2 separate regions of the Homo sapiens genome follow, and region 2 is linked to region 1. The links are contacts of gene promoters, found by promoter capture Hi-C in blood cells and fetal thymus (Javierre and others, 2016). All regions are on one chromosome and are shown on one strand. The core of a region is centred on a gene start or on the middle of the fragment in contact, and the rest is flanking DNA. Distances in the headings are between cores, read along the strand shown. Region 1 holds the start of VASP (vasodilator stimulated phosphoprotein). Region 2 overlaps DMPK (DM1 protein kinase).

The links. The method cuts DNA at HindIII sites, captures the fragments that hold promoters and counts their contacts. A CHiCAGO score of 5 or more calls a contact.
Region 2: a contact is called between a fragment that was not itself captured here and the fragment with the promoter of VASP in region 1, in 3 of 17 cell types (naive B cells, fetal thymus and naive CD4 T cells). The highest score is 5.7, in naive B cells.

Annotation. Positions count from the first base shown.
Region 1 is chr19:45,505,516-45,512,063 of GRCh38, forward strand. It overlaps VASP (vasodilator stimulated phosphoprotein), which reads left to right and starts at 1,964. Exons shown (of 13, transcript NM_003370.4): 1 at 1,964-2,261. The coding sequence starts at 2,257. LOC107985314 (a long non-coding RNA gene) reads right to left here and starts at 1,859. Exons shown (of 2, transcript XR_007067269.1): 1 at 1,170-1,859. RefSeq lists silencers at 1,025-1,274, 1,305-1,434, 2,115-2,294, 2,889-3,088, 3,899-4,028 and enhancers at 1,629-2,413, 1,695-1,964. The HindIII fragment of the contact is 2,487 bases long and covers 729-3,215 here.
Region 2 is chr19:45,772,347-45,779,486 of GRCh38, forward strand. It overlaps DMPK (DM1 protein kinase), which reads right to left. Exons shown (of 15, transcript NM_004409.5): 3 at 7,093-7,140; 4 at 6,918-7,013; 5 at 6,147-6,295; 6 at 5,781-5,874; 7 at 5,321-5,527; 8 at 4,981-5,244; 9 at 2,603-2,688; 10 at 295-406. Among named protein-coding and RNA genes, the nearest start is that of DMPK, 6.6 kb to the right of the region's middle. RefSeq lists an enhancer at 4,629-5,362. The HindIII fragment of the contact is 8,405 bases long and covers 1-6,113 here.

The DNA of each region.
Region 1 (6,548 bases), core at 714-3,213:
GATCGAATGAGCCCTGGTTATGCTACTGCGCTCCGGCATGGGCAACAAAGACCCTGTCTCCAACAAACAAACAAACAAAAAACCATGTTTGCTGACTGTTGTTGTAGTGTAGGTGGCACCCAGAAATGCCACCCCTCCTATGTCACAGATGGGAAAGCTGAGACCCAGAGAGGAGAACACAGTTACCCAAGGTCACACTGAACTGGTAACTCATTCAACTAGGTAAGTTTGTTGAGCTGCTGAGCCGGGCGGGCCTGGCTGGGGTGAGTGAGGTCCAGAAATTGATTAAGTCAACTGGGTGCAGTGGCTCATGCCTGTAATCCTAGCACTTTGGGAGACTGAGGCAGGCAGATCACCTGAGGTCATAAGTTTGAGACCAGCCTGGCCAACATGGTGAAATCCCATCTCTACTAAAAATACAAAAATTAGTTGGGCTTGGTGGCCCGTGCCTGTAATCCCAGCTACTTTAGGAGGGTGAGGCAGGAGAATTGCTTGAACCCAGGAGGGGGAGGTTGCAGTAAGCGGGGATCGAGCCAGCGCCCTCCAGCCTGGGTGACAGCGAGAGACTACATCTCAAAAAAAAAAAAAGAAAAAAAGAAATTTAGTCTACCCATTCTCCCAGACAACTCAGCCTGAGGAAACACACTGAGAAACAATGATAACCTCCGAGGAACAGGGTTCAAGGTCTCCCAGAGTGGGGTGGAGAAGGGGAGGGGAATTAATGTCAAAGCTTGGCCTGGAAGGATGACGTGCTCCCCAGGTAAAGGAGGTCAGGACAACATCAACATCCGGACATGGGACTCGGCTTGGACATACGCTGGAAAAGTGGATTCTCTCACATAGTCAGCTGGCCCTGAGAATTGTTGGTTTTACACTCAGACCTTGGTGGCTTTCCGGGTTCTGGGGGCTCAGGCAAGAGGGCCATAGGCCAGATTCATTCCCTGTCTCCAGGCCTCAGTTTACCCGTGTGTAAATGTGGAACTAACTGATTTCCCAGGGCTCGGGCGCCTCACCCGGGCCAGGTGGCGCTCTACCCAAGGGGCGCGACCAAATCAGTGACGTCACTCGGGGCGGGGCCGGCAAGACACGCTGCGGAAGCCTCAGAGGGTGTCTGGGCTCAGCCCGGAGCCGGCGTGTGGGGGCGGGGGCTCCCGGGAGGGTCTCCTCACCTCCGGGCCCTCCTGAGGGCTGGGATGATCCTGCTGTCCTCCGCAGGCGAAACTGAGTCAGAGCGGGGCGTGCGTGGGCCGGAGGCTTTACACACCAAAGAAGCCGGCGCCTCCTGCCCACCCCGGGCGAATGCCGGGCCCCCCACTCCCGCACTCCTCGCCAGTCCCCACCTCCACCCCACCCCACCCCCGACCCTGCGGCTGTGAGTCAGCGACCGACCGCGCCCCCTTGGCCCACTTCCTCCTCACCTTCCCGGGGCGGGCGGGGTGGGGTGAGAGGGGTTGGGCCCTACTCCCCCGACTTCCACTCCCGTGCGGGTGGGGGTCTCGCCCCCTTAGTAACCTCTCCGAAATTGACAGAAGAGAAACGCTGGGGAGGGGCGGTGTTCCGAAGATGGGATTTCAGGGAGAAAATCTGAGACCACTTGCTTAACTTGAGGGTCCTCCTCGACCCCCAAAATTGAGCGGAGTACGAGATGGAGAAGTCGATGGGGAAAGAAATCGCGCCCCTTCCGAGACCCTCCTCAGAATTCCCACAGTGGGAGCGAACTAGGAAGCAAGGGAGGTCCCCTTCCCCTTCACCAACTTGCCCCTCAGGTGGGGGTGATTCCCAGGGTGCACCCCTGGGCTACAACATTGGGGAGAGGAGCGAGATCGCGGAAGCCGAGGGTGCAGAGTTGCCCTTTTAAGCGCCCTCCACCCCCTCGCCTGGAGGCGCACGCGGCCCCTTTAAGGCGCGGGGCATTGTGGGTGCGGGGAGTGGAATTTTGGAACGAAATGTAACGAAGAGAAGTACAGTAGTAAGAGTAACACTGTAGCCGCCACCGGCAAGGGGTGCGCGCTGGGGAGCGGACGCTGCATCCCCTTTCTGCTGCAGGAACCTCTCATCAGACCGCCTGAGGGAAGCGGCGCCCGGAGACCCGCCCCGGCCCGGTCCACATTCTCCCCAGGAAGCCGGACTCTATGGGGCGGGACCCTGGGGGAGCCTGAGCCGAGCCCGGAGCCAGCCCCGAACCCCTGAACCTCCAGCCAGGGGCGCCCCGGGAGCAGCCAGCCCGTGGGCGAGCCGCCCGCCCGCCGAGCAGCCATGAGGTGAGCCGGACCTGCCCCCCGACCCGTCCCCGCCCGGGCGGGCTCCGCGCCCCGCCTTTGTCCCCCTCCCCCCCAGCTAGCTCCGGGCTGGAATTTGGGGACAGATCCTTGGGAGCCTCGGATTTGAGCTGAATCCCCTTGGACGCGCCCCAGAACCGTCGATCACTTCTCCACGACTGACTCCCCAAGCTCGGGGGGTGGTGGCGGTGAGGTTCTCCTGGGAGCCCTCAAGATTTGGGGGCGCTCGGAGGACTCCCGAATTGTTAAGACTTTTTTTAGAGGACCTCAAAGTTGGCAGCGACTCCCCGCAGGGATGCCAGGATTGAGGCAGGGCTCAGACTCTCCTCCCCCTCCCCCCAGACTTCAGCTCGAGGTCCGGGAAGGATTGTGGGGGACCGATTTGGGATACCCTGGGACTTGGAAGAGAGACTGAGACTCAGACCCTGGGTGTGCAGGTCCCCCGTTTACTTGGTGCTGGAAAAAGTCTCCCCAAGTGGGACCGCGCTCCATAACTTCGGGGGTACTTCTTAATCCCCTGGATTTTGGGGGTCACTTAGGTCTTCCTGTGGAGGAGGCTGGTGTGAACCGATCCAGGGACCTGGACGCAGCCTCCAGAGTCTGGTGGGACCCCCCCCTTCCCCGTCGCTCCGCACACAATCTGCTTAACTGGCCGTGCCTAGGACCGAGCGGGCGCTCGGAGCAGAGGGCGGCTCCCCGCCTCCGGCCATAAGGGCGGCCCGGCTCCCCCACCTGCGCGGCCCTGGAGAGGGAGGGGGCGCGGCAGCTGGGGGAAGGGGGCCTTTGTCTTCCTGACTCACCTGTCGAGACAGCTGGTGTGGGGGGCGGGCACCAAGCGCTGTAGGCCGGCTGCCTTCCCCACCACGGCCCCTCCCCCTTTGCTCACCGTCCCCCTATCCACCCGGAGCCTTGGGGTTGGAGGAGGGGGAGCTGGAAAGCTTCAAGGTCATAGCCCTCTTCCCTAGGGACCCAGGCTTCCCAGATAATTCCAGCTATCTTCCCAGGAATTTAATCCTGGGGGTGGCGGCCCAAGGGACCCAGGGATTTGGTCTGGCCGGGGCCTCCCCCGAACTCCTGGGCTCACCTGAGGGCGGGGCCAGTGTGGGCAGGGGGGCCCAACCATCCCCCCTATTCTTCCCTCCCCTGGCCCCCCATAATCTCTCCCATGGGGCCAGAGCCTGACAATACTATCTCCCTTCCTCTACTCTCTCTGGGACTTCCTGCCCCAAAGCCCCCAGCCTGAGCAGGGAGGCCCCTGGGGACGGTTGGGGATTAACCCCGTGGTGCCCACATCCCCCGCATTTCCTGAACCCCTGCCCTTTGACATCGGAGTGGCGTGGCATTCCTTTTTATGACCACTAGAGAATCCCCCTCCCGCGTTTGTTCCTTCTGATGTGAAAGGCATGGCTGGAAAATTTGGAGCAAGGAGGACACCCACAGATACCCTCAAGACTTCCTGCCTATCCGCTCCCCATTATAGCAACATCCCTTCCAAGTCCGCCCTGGAGAGGGGTCAGTTTAGGGAGCGTCGCTCTCTTCCTTCGCCCTCTTCCTCCGGGACTCTTCTCTCCCCTTGCCCCCCAGCCCCGCCCCTCCACCCCCCCTCGCGTTTCCGGTCCCAGGCTCGGTGGAAGGCGGATGGCGGATGTCCGAGTTAGTGCTGCCTCACTCACTGCAACCGTAAAAGGGCAGGAGCGGTGTCTGGGCCGGCCCCCTGTCCTCCCCACCACCACCACCACCACCAGCACCAGCCCTGGAAGCCCTGGCCCTCCCACAAGGCCCACCTCTTGCTGTGGTGGTGGCCAAGCATCCCGTCTTGTGGGGGTGCTGGGGTGGGGTGCGGTGCAGAAATGACCAGATGCCTGTCCCACCAAAAGGCCACTCCCACCTTTCCAGGGGGTCTCCCCTGCAGGTGGTCACACCCGACTTCCTGGGCTGTGCCTCTTCTCCAAGGACAGCCAGAATTCAAAACCCATGCCCCTATTACCCAGCTGGGGAAACTGAGGCTCAAAGAGAAAAAGACATGGCCAAGATCCCTCAGAAATTCCTAGGCAACGTTGGAGGGGTGGAGGAGCCTAGGATCCTCTGATTTCTGGCTGGTTTGGCTGGGGACAGTCCTGGGGGCAGTTGGAAGAGAGGATGTTAAGATGGAAAATTACAAGATATAGTTCTTTTTCTCCCAGTTTGACAAATATTTGTTGAGTGTTGGCTGTGTCCGGGACTGGAGCTGGGGTGCTGGGAAGACAGAGAAGCGAGGCAGAGGTCTAGAATCTCAGGGCAGAAGGGACTTGGGGAGAACTGGGGTCCATTTCTTTCTTCTTCCAATAATAGCTATTTTTATTTTTAAAAAATAAGAGACCATTTGATCAAGCATCTATTTTATGTGGGGCATTTTTGTGCCTGACAGCAATTCTGGCTGGTTTTTTTGTTGGTTTGTTTGTTTGTTTTGAGACGGAAATTTTGCTCTTGTTGCCCAGGCTGTTGTGAAATGGCATGATCTCGGCTCACTGCAACCTCCGTCTCCTGGGTTCAAGCGATTCTCCTCCTCAACCTTCCGAGTAGCTGGGACTACAGGTGCCTGCCACCATGCCCGGCTAATTTTTATATTTTTAGTAGAGATAGGGTTTCACCGTGATGGCCAGGCTGGTCTCGAACTCTTAACCTCAGGTGATCCACCCGCCTCGACCTCCTAAAGTGTTATTATTACAGACGTCAGCCACCACACCTGGCCCCTCATGGCAGTTCGAACAATGATACTATTACAACCTTGTGGCCTCCCCACCCCGGTACTCAGTTTATAGATGGGGAAACTGAGGCACAGGAAAGTTAGGCAAGGTGCCTATTAAACTCAAACAGGGCCAGGCGCCGGGGCTCATGCCTGTAATCCTAACACTTTGGGAGGCCAAGGCAGAAGGATCGCTTGAGCCCAGGAGTTTGAGAACAGCCTGGGCAATATGGTGTAACCCCGTCTCTACAAAATATACAAAAATTAGCTGGGTGTGGTGGCATGCGCCTGTAGTTCCAGCTACTCTGGAGGCTGAGGCGAGAGGATCGTTTGAGCTGGGGAGGTTGAGGCCGCAATGAGTCATATTCTTGCCACTGCACTCCAGCCTGGGTGACAAAGTGAGACCCTGTCTCAAAAAAAAAAAAAAAATAGAGATAACATGCTTTCCGTGTTCTTAATGAAGAAAAAGAAAAAAAAAAAGGAACGTGCTTTCACTGTGAAAACTCTTAAGATAATTCAGATAAGCCAAATGAAACCGAAGCTGCAACATTTATCTTCCTATTCACTTATGGGAAACTGAGGCCCACCAGGAGGAAGGGACTAGAGTAGCCCCATCCCCGACAAAAGAAGATTTGTCGTTTGGAAGGGTGGTGTATATGTATCATAGGTTTTATGGTATAAGGAGGGTATGGGCTAAGTCTTGGGTTCAGGGGACAGTGAAGGGAAGGGTAAGACTGCAAGTTTTGTGAAAACCGGATTCACCATGCTTGATTACCTCTGGTGATGGGAAGCTCTCTCCTTCATGTGGAGCGTGTACCAAGTTACAGTTCCTGCGTTTAGGGCTTTTTGTCCATTATCTCTTTTAATCCTTACAATGAACCCAGTGAGTTATTGTTTCCAGGGCTGGAAACTGAGTTTCAGAGAGGCAAAGCCACACAACAAGGAGGCAACTTGAACCGTCTTTTCATCCGCCATGTGCTAGAGTTTTCCAAAATGTGGGGACTTGCAGGGAGGAGTGGGTCCTGGGCTGGCTGGAAAATTAAAGTGTTCTCATGTCCAATGGAGGGTTCTAGACTTCGGGAAAACACACTGGAAATGGGCAGAACTCCTTTCCATCTCACAGCCCCCGCACCCCCGTTTTATGGCTATGGGATTTTCGTTCTGGCTTTTGTGTAGTTTACAGTTTTATTTATTGAACTTAAGTAGTGAGTTAGGTTTTTATAGGTAATTTCAACCCATGATAAGAAAACAAATAATAAGCAGTTTGAAATACTTACTGAAATTATTGAAATGGTGGCTGGGCCTGGTGGCTTATGCCTGTAATCCCAGCACTTTGGGAGGTCGAGGCAGGCAGATCACCTGAGGTCAGGAGTTTGAGGCCAGCCTGGCCAATGTGGCAAACGCCCAAACCCCATCTCTACTGAAAATAGAAACATTAGCCTGGCGTGGTGGCACACGTTTGTAATCCCGGACACTCAGAAGGCTGAGGCAGGAGAATCGCTTGAACTCGGGAAGTGGAGGCTGGGAGGCTGAGGCAGGAGAAT
Region 2 (7,140 bases), core at 661-3,160, 270 kb after region 1:
GAGGCTCTCGCCTGACCACTTGGCACCTTTCCTTCCATGGCTTGTTTCTCCTTCACCAGCGCTCAGCTCAAAGATCGACTTCTCAGATCCCCAGCAACACACACACCCTTACTTAATGCCCCACTGTAACTACAGAGACCGTCCCATGTCTGAAGTAACCTCGTCTCTCCGTGGTTTCTGTCTGCTTCTGTTCAGGAAGTCCCTAGAGGGCTCTACAGTGCACGCCACCCGGGAAGCCCTCACCTTTTCTCTCCCAATTGTCCCTGACGGACCCCCTCCCCTCCACCAACTTACTGTTTCATCCTGTGGGGACACCGAGGGCTCCAGGCTGGGCGCTTGCACGTGTGGCTCAAGCAGCTGCTCGGCCTCCAGTTCCATGGGTGTGGGGCCTGGGACCTCACTGTCCCTGGGGAGAGGAGGAGGGAGTGGGGAGGGAGACAGAATGCTGATTCTCTGGTGGAGAACCAGAACTTCTGGCCTGTGGGTAGGGGCAGCTGCTTCCAAGACCTCCTGATTTGAGGAAGGGGAGCAGCAGAGCGAAGAGAACAGAGTCCCAGGTAGGCCAATAGCCCCTCCTCTGCTTAGGAAAAGCCCTGCCCCTCTCCTGGCCTTGGGCCCCTGGGAGCTGCTCTTTCTAAACCTTCTGCAGGGACTTGGGGTCCAGACCCCCATGTTCTAGGGTCAGCTCATCTCCTCCCTTGACATGTGACCGCTGCAGACCCCTCTTCTCAGGGCCTCAGGACAGGGAGGCCGACCTGATGGGGAGACTGCTTGGCTCTGGCCACCTCCACAGATGTGGTCCTAAGACTGGGCATGGGACCCCAAGATGGCAACTTGAGGTCAGCACACCCCACTCAGCTGTGGGAAGGGGACAGCTCCTCCCTGGGGTATGAAGTGGCTGTCCCCTCCAACCCAGCAGTCCCTCCTGTGGGAACACGGCTCAGGACCTAGCTATCCTGGACATGCGCCTGGGTTCTAATAGAGGATGGGTTCAATCCTGACCCACCGTTCAGGCCCCGCAGCGGTTCAGAATCAAGCTGGAGTTCATTAATGATAAGGTATAGTATGTGTAATGTTGTCCAGTAATAAAAGCTGACTAGAAAACCAACTGTTCTCTTAGACAAAGTAGCATGAGGAAGGGGAAAAAAACAAACCAAAAAAACACCTGTTCTCCACTATTTAAACATGTGTCAGTACACGTGTGAGCCAGGGACCACTGCCATCTGGTGAGCTCACGAGATATCAACTTCCTTTTCCTTATCTGTATTTTCTAATTTACTTGTGATAAGCAATGCATTATTTGTGTAATTAATACTTTTGTTGAGACCAGGTCTCACTTTGTTGCCTAGGCTGGAATCTATCATGGCTCACTGAAGCCTCAAACTCCAGGCTCAAGTGATTCTCCTACTTCAGACTCCTGAGTAGCTAGGACTGCAGGCACAGACCACCATGCCTGGCACGATTTTTTCAATTTTTTGTAGAGACAGGGTCTCATTATGTTGCTCAGGCTGGTCTTGAACTCCTGGGCTGAAGCAATCCGTCCACTTCAGCCTCCCAAAGTGCTGGGATTCCAAGCGTGAGCCACCATGCCCAGCCTGTAAATTAGTACTTTTTTTTTTTTTTTTTTGAGATGAAGTTTCACTCTTGTTGCCCAGGCTGGAATGCAATGGCACGATCTCAGCTCACCACAACCTCCCCCTCCTGGGTTCTGATTCTCCTGCCTCAGCCTCCTGAGTAGCTGGGATTACAGGTATATGCCACCACGCCTGGCTAATTTTGTTTTTTAGTAGAGATGAGGTTTCTCCACGTTGGTCAGGCTGGTCTCGAACTCCTGACCTCAGGTGATCCACCCACCTCATCCTCCCAAAGCACTGGAATTACAGGCGTGAGCCACCACACCCGGCCTAAATAAATACTTTTTTTTTTTTTTTTTTGAGACGGAGTCTTGCTCTGTCGCCCAGGCTGGAGTGCAGTGGCATGATCTCGGCTCACTGCAAGCTCCGCCTCCCGGGTTCATGCCATTCTCCTGCCTCGCCTCCCAAGTAGCTGGGACCGCAAGCGCCCGCCACCATGCCCGGCTAATTTTTTTGTATTTTTAGTAGAGACGGGGTTTCACCGTGTTAGCCAGGATGGTCTCGATCTCCTGACCTCATGATCCACCTGCCTTGGCCTCCCAAAGTGCTAGGATTACAGGCGTGAGCCACCGCGGCCCGCCTAAATTAATACTTTTAAATGGCCTTATTGTTATATGGCTGATTCAAAGAATTTGCATTCTTTTACAACTGATTGTAAAAGTCTAAACTTCATATTTTCCAAGTTCTGAAGTCCTGTGGCTCTGTGTACTACAGACGTAAAAGTTAATGGTTACAAGATTCTGGGAAGCCCAGTCTGTGACTCTGAGGTTTTAAAATTCAATCTAACATTTTGAAGTACATAGATCTGAAAATTTAAGGTCCTCCAACTCTGGCCTCTTAGGAGTCTTTGGGCCCAAAACAGTAAGGTTCCAAGACTGATCCTGCAACTCCATTGGCTGCCAAGGAGCAGGACCCAGGAAGCTCAAGCAGCCTCGTGGCCCCTGGAGGCCGTCCAGGGCAGTGCTTACCTGAGGGCCATGCAGGAGTAGGAGTAGCCCACAAAAGGCAGGTGGACCCCTAGCGGCGCACCTTCCCGAATGTCCGACAGTGTCTCCTGCGCAAGACACACAGATGTGAGCAGCAGTCGTCAGGGCGGGCCCCTCACTGCTTTTTGATCTTGGCTTACATGTTCCCCCCAAACCAGCCCCAACTCAGGGCTTATCTAAAGTGGCCCCTCCAGCATTTTTTCTTTTTTCTTTTTCTTTGATACGGAGTCTCGCTCTGTTACCCAGGCTGGAGTGCAGTGGTGCAATCTCAGCTCACTGCAACCTCCGCCTCCCAGGTTCAGGCGATTCTCCTGCCTCAGCGTCCTGAGTAGCTGAGATTACAGGCGCCCTCTACCACGCCTGGCTAATTTTTTATATTTTTGGTAGAGACGGGGTTTCGCCACGCTGGCCAGGCTGGTCTCCATCTTCTGACCTCAAGTGATCCGCCTACCTCAGCTGTTGTAGTCCCAAACTCTGGGCTCAAGCAGTCCTCCAACCTCAGCCTCCCAAAGTGCTGGGATTACAAATATAAGCCACTGTGCCCAGCCCAGTTCTGTTTTTTTTTTTTAGATGGAGTCTTGCTGTCTCCCAGCCTAGAGTGCAGTGGCACAACCCCAGCCCACTGCAAACTCTGCCTCCCAGGTTCAATCAAGCGATTCTCCTGCCTCAGCCTCCTGAGTAGCTGGCATTACAGGCATACGCCACCAAGCCTGGCTAAATTTTGTATTTTTAGTAGACACAGGGTTTCACCATGTTGGCCAGGCTGGTCTTGAACTCCTGACTTCCAGTGATCTGCCTGCCTCAGCCTCCCAAAGTTCTGGGATTACAGGCGTGAACCACCTTGCCCAACCCTTTTTTTTTTTTTTTTTTTTGAGACAGAGTCTCACTCTGTCACCCAGACTGGAGTGTAGTGGCATGATCTTGGCTCACTGCAAACTCTGCCTCCCAGGTTCAAGCAATTCTCCTGCCTCAGCTTCCCCAGTAACTGGAATTACAGGCACCCGAGACCACACCCAGCTAATTTTCTTGTATTTTTAGTAGAGACGGGGTTTCACCGTGTTGGCCAGCCTAGTCTCAAAACTCCTGATCTCATGACCCACCGGCCTTGGACTCCCAAAGTGCTGGGATTACAGGCATGAGCCACAGCGCCCGGCCGCGGTCCAGCCTATTTTTTTTTTTTTTTTTTTTTTTTTCTGAGACAGAGTCTCGCTCTGTCGCCCAGGCTGGAGTGCAGTGGCACGATCTCGGCTCACTGCAAACTCTGCCTCCCGGGTTCACGCCATTCTCCTGCCTCAGCCTCCTGAGTAGCTGGGACTACAGGCGCCCGCCACCACGCCTGGCTAATTTTTTGTATTTTTAGGAGAGATGGGGTTTCACCGTGTTAGCCAAGATGGTCTCGATCTCCTGACCTCGTGATCCACCCGCCTCGGCCTCCCAAAGTGCTGAGATTACAGGCGTGAGCCACCACGCCCGGCCAGCCCAGCCTATTTTTTAATTTCAGTTTATCTTATTTTTGAGACAGAGTCTCTCTCCGTTGCCCAGGCTGGAGTGCAGTGGCACAATCACAGCTCACTGCAGCCTTGACCTCCTGGGCTCAAGCCCACGTCGGCCACCCTAGTAGCTGAGTATACAGGCATGCGCCACCACGCCCAACCAATTTTTAAAACATTTTTGTAGAGACGGGGGTCTCACCACATTGCCCAGGCTGGTCTCGAACTCCTGGGCTCAAGCAATCCACCCACTTCGGCCTGCCAAATTGCTGGGGTTACAGGCGTGAGCCACCGTGCCTGGCCCCATCATTTTTTCTTGTATCCTGTTGCTTCCCTTCAGGGCACCTGCCACACTCTCCATAATTCTCTAATTCTCTAGACTGCAACTGGATGAGGGCAGGGACCAGAGCTCATCTGGTCCGTGCTGGATCCCCAGTATTGTTCAGCAAAAGGGCACCCAGAGCCGAGCAAGCATGCCATGACAGCTTGTTACACGGTGAAGAGAGACGGCCTAAGGGAGGAGGAGTCCTCTCCTGCTTCTCATCCCTCCAAGTCTCAGCTCAGATAGCTCCCCACTCCAGAAAGCCCTCCAGGACCTTCCTTGCTGAGTCAGGAGTCCCCCACCCCCTGCACTCCATTGTCTCAGCCCTGATCACTCTGGGGCCTTACTGTCTGAAGACTGCTCTGTGTTCCCCCACTGGACTGTAAGTCTAGGTCACTGCTGGGTCCTCAGTAGTAGATGGGCACAGAGCAGGTGCTCTGGGGAATGAGTGATTCAGGACCCCAGAAGGTAGGCACTGTCCTTACTCCAACTTTATGGAGGGAGCATGGGGAGGTTCCCGCAGCCGAGCAGGGGCCACAGGTACCTACCCCGCCCCCGCTCACCATGGCAGTGAGCCCGTCCTCCACCAAGTCGAAGTTGCATGTGTCGGTGGCACCTTCGAAATCCGGTGTAAAGGGGGGCACGCTGTCCCGGAGACCATCCCAGTCGAGGCCAAAGAAGAAGGGATGTGTCCGGAAGTCGCCTGCTCCACCCCGGCCCAGCCGTGTCTCCGGGGGACACAGCAACCGCTGAATGAAGTCTCGAGCCTCCTCAGGGACCCCTTCGTCCACCAGCGGCAGAGAGAGGTGCTCCTGCTCAGAGGGAGAGGAGGCGATAGCCTGGGAGCGCCTACCGGGAGAGGCCAGGTCTCCCTGCGGCCGTGCTCACCTTGTAGTGGACGATCTTGCCATAGGTCTCCGCCGTGGAATCCGCGTAGAAGGGCGTCTGCCCATAGAACATTTCATAGGCGAATACACCCAGCGCCCACCAGTCACACTCGGGCCCGTAGCTGCCTGTCCCAGGCCCACCGCCCACAGCCTGCAGGATCTCGGGGGACAGGTAGTCTGGGGTGCCCACAGCCACCAGCGACCGCACCTGGACCAAAAGGAGCAGAGCGAGGCTTGGGCCCACCCCTCTGGGCCCACCAGCTCTGGGCCCTCCTTCCAACCACTCCCCAAATGCTTAGCCCCTCCCTCTGCCTGGTCTAATACTCCGCCACACAGATGCACACTTAAGCCTGGGTCACACCACCTCTTTTCCCCTCCAAATCCAGTCCCGCTCCCACACTCTGTGCCTTCCATCCCTCATCAGCAGCCCCAGTTGCTCTGTGGCCAGGGCACTGGCTCACCGTTCCATCTGCCCGCAGCTTGAGGCAAGAGCCGAAGTCGGCCAGGCGGATGTGGCCACAGCGGTCCAGCAGGATGTTGTCGGGTTTGATGTCCCTGCACGGAGGAAAAGAGAAGGGTGGGATAAATGAACCTCCCTTCTGTGGTCCCACCAGGCTCCGCCCCTCCGGGCAGTGCCACCTGGGACCCCACTTCCTCGGGTTCCGCCCCTGTAGGGCTTCTACAGTTCTGACCCCTACTCCCAGGCACCCCCCGGTGGGCCCCAACCAAGAAGGTCCCTCTCCAGGCCCTGGCCTCTCTGGGCTCTGACCTTCCAAGAACCCGGCCAGGGAACAAGCTTGCTATCCCCTCGGCCATGCTGCACCCACCTGTGCACGTAGCCAAGCCGGTGCACCGAGTCTATGGCCATGACAATCTCCGCCAGGTAGAAGCGCGCCATCTCGGCCGGAATCCGCTCCCCAAACTTGCTCAGCAGTGTCAGCAGGTCCCCGCCCACGTAATACTCCATGACCAGGTACTGAGAAGGGGTTCGTCATGGGTGGTTGGTAGTCCCCTGAGGCCCTGATCCATCACGGATGGCTGGGACAACCCCTCCCAGAGACACCCCATCCTTGGGCAGAGACCTGCAGCCCCAGCCCAGAGATAACCATAGAGATCTGCCGGGCCAAATCAGAGACCACCTGCGGCCCCCGCCCCCGCCCCTCAAAAAAAAACACAAACAAAAAAACTTTCCTGGGATGTCACTGGGCAGATTCACTCCCCCTGAGATGTTCTGGGAAAGAGAACCCAGAGGCCACCCAACACCCAGAGAATAGGTCCCAGACACTCCTTCCCTAGGCAGTGGCCCCGTTAGAATTCCTGAAGACCTATCCCATTCCAGGTAAGAGACCCCCCGCAACAGAGACATCTTTATAAGAGTCCCCCAGATCACCCCAGAAACGGGCAGTGAAGGACACCATCCCCGTCTCAGATAGGGAAGGCCCCTCATCCACCTGACACACCCTCTTACCGCACACAGACTTTCCCACAGACGTTTCCGGGCAGCACCCCCAATCCTAGAGCTTCCTCTCCCCACCTCCTCGTCCAGTGACAGCACGGGCTCTTGTCCCTCTTCCTAGTCACCCCGGCCCGGAGCTCACCAGGTAGTTCTCATCCTGGAAGGCGAAGTGCAGCTGCGTGATCCACCGCCGGTCCCCATTCACCAACACGTCCCTCTCCTCACGGAAGCACGACACCTGCAGGGCACCCGGAGGAGCTGCAGCCGGAGACGGGGCGCGGATCCTCAAAGCCCCCCACGTCCGCCCAGCCCCTCACCTCGCCCCTCTTCAGCATGTCCCACTTGTTCATGATCTTCATGGCATA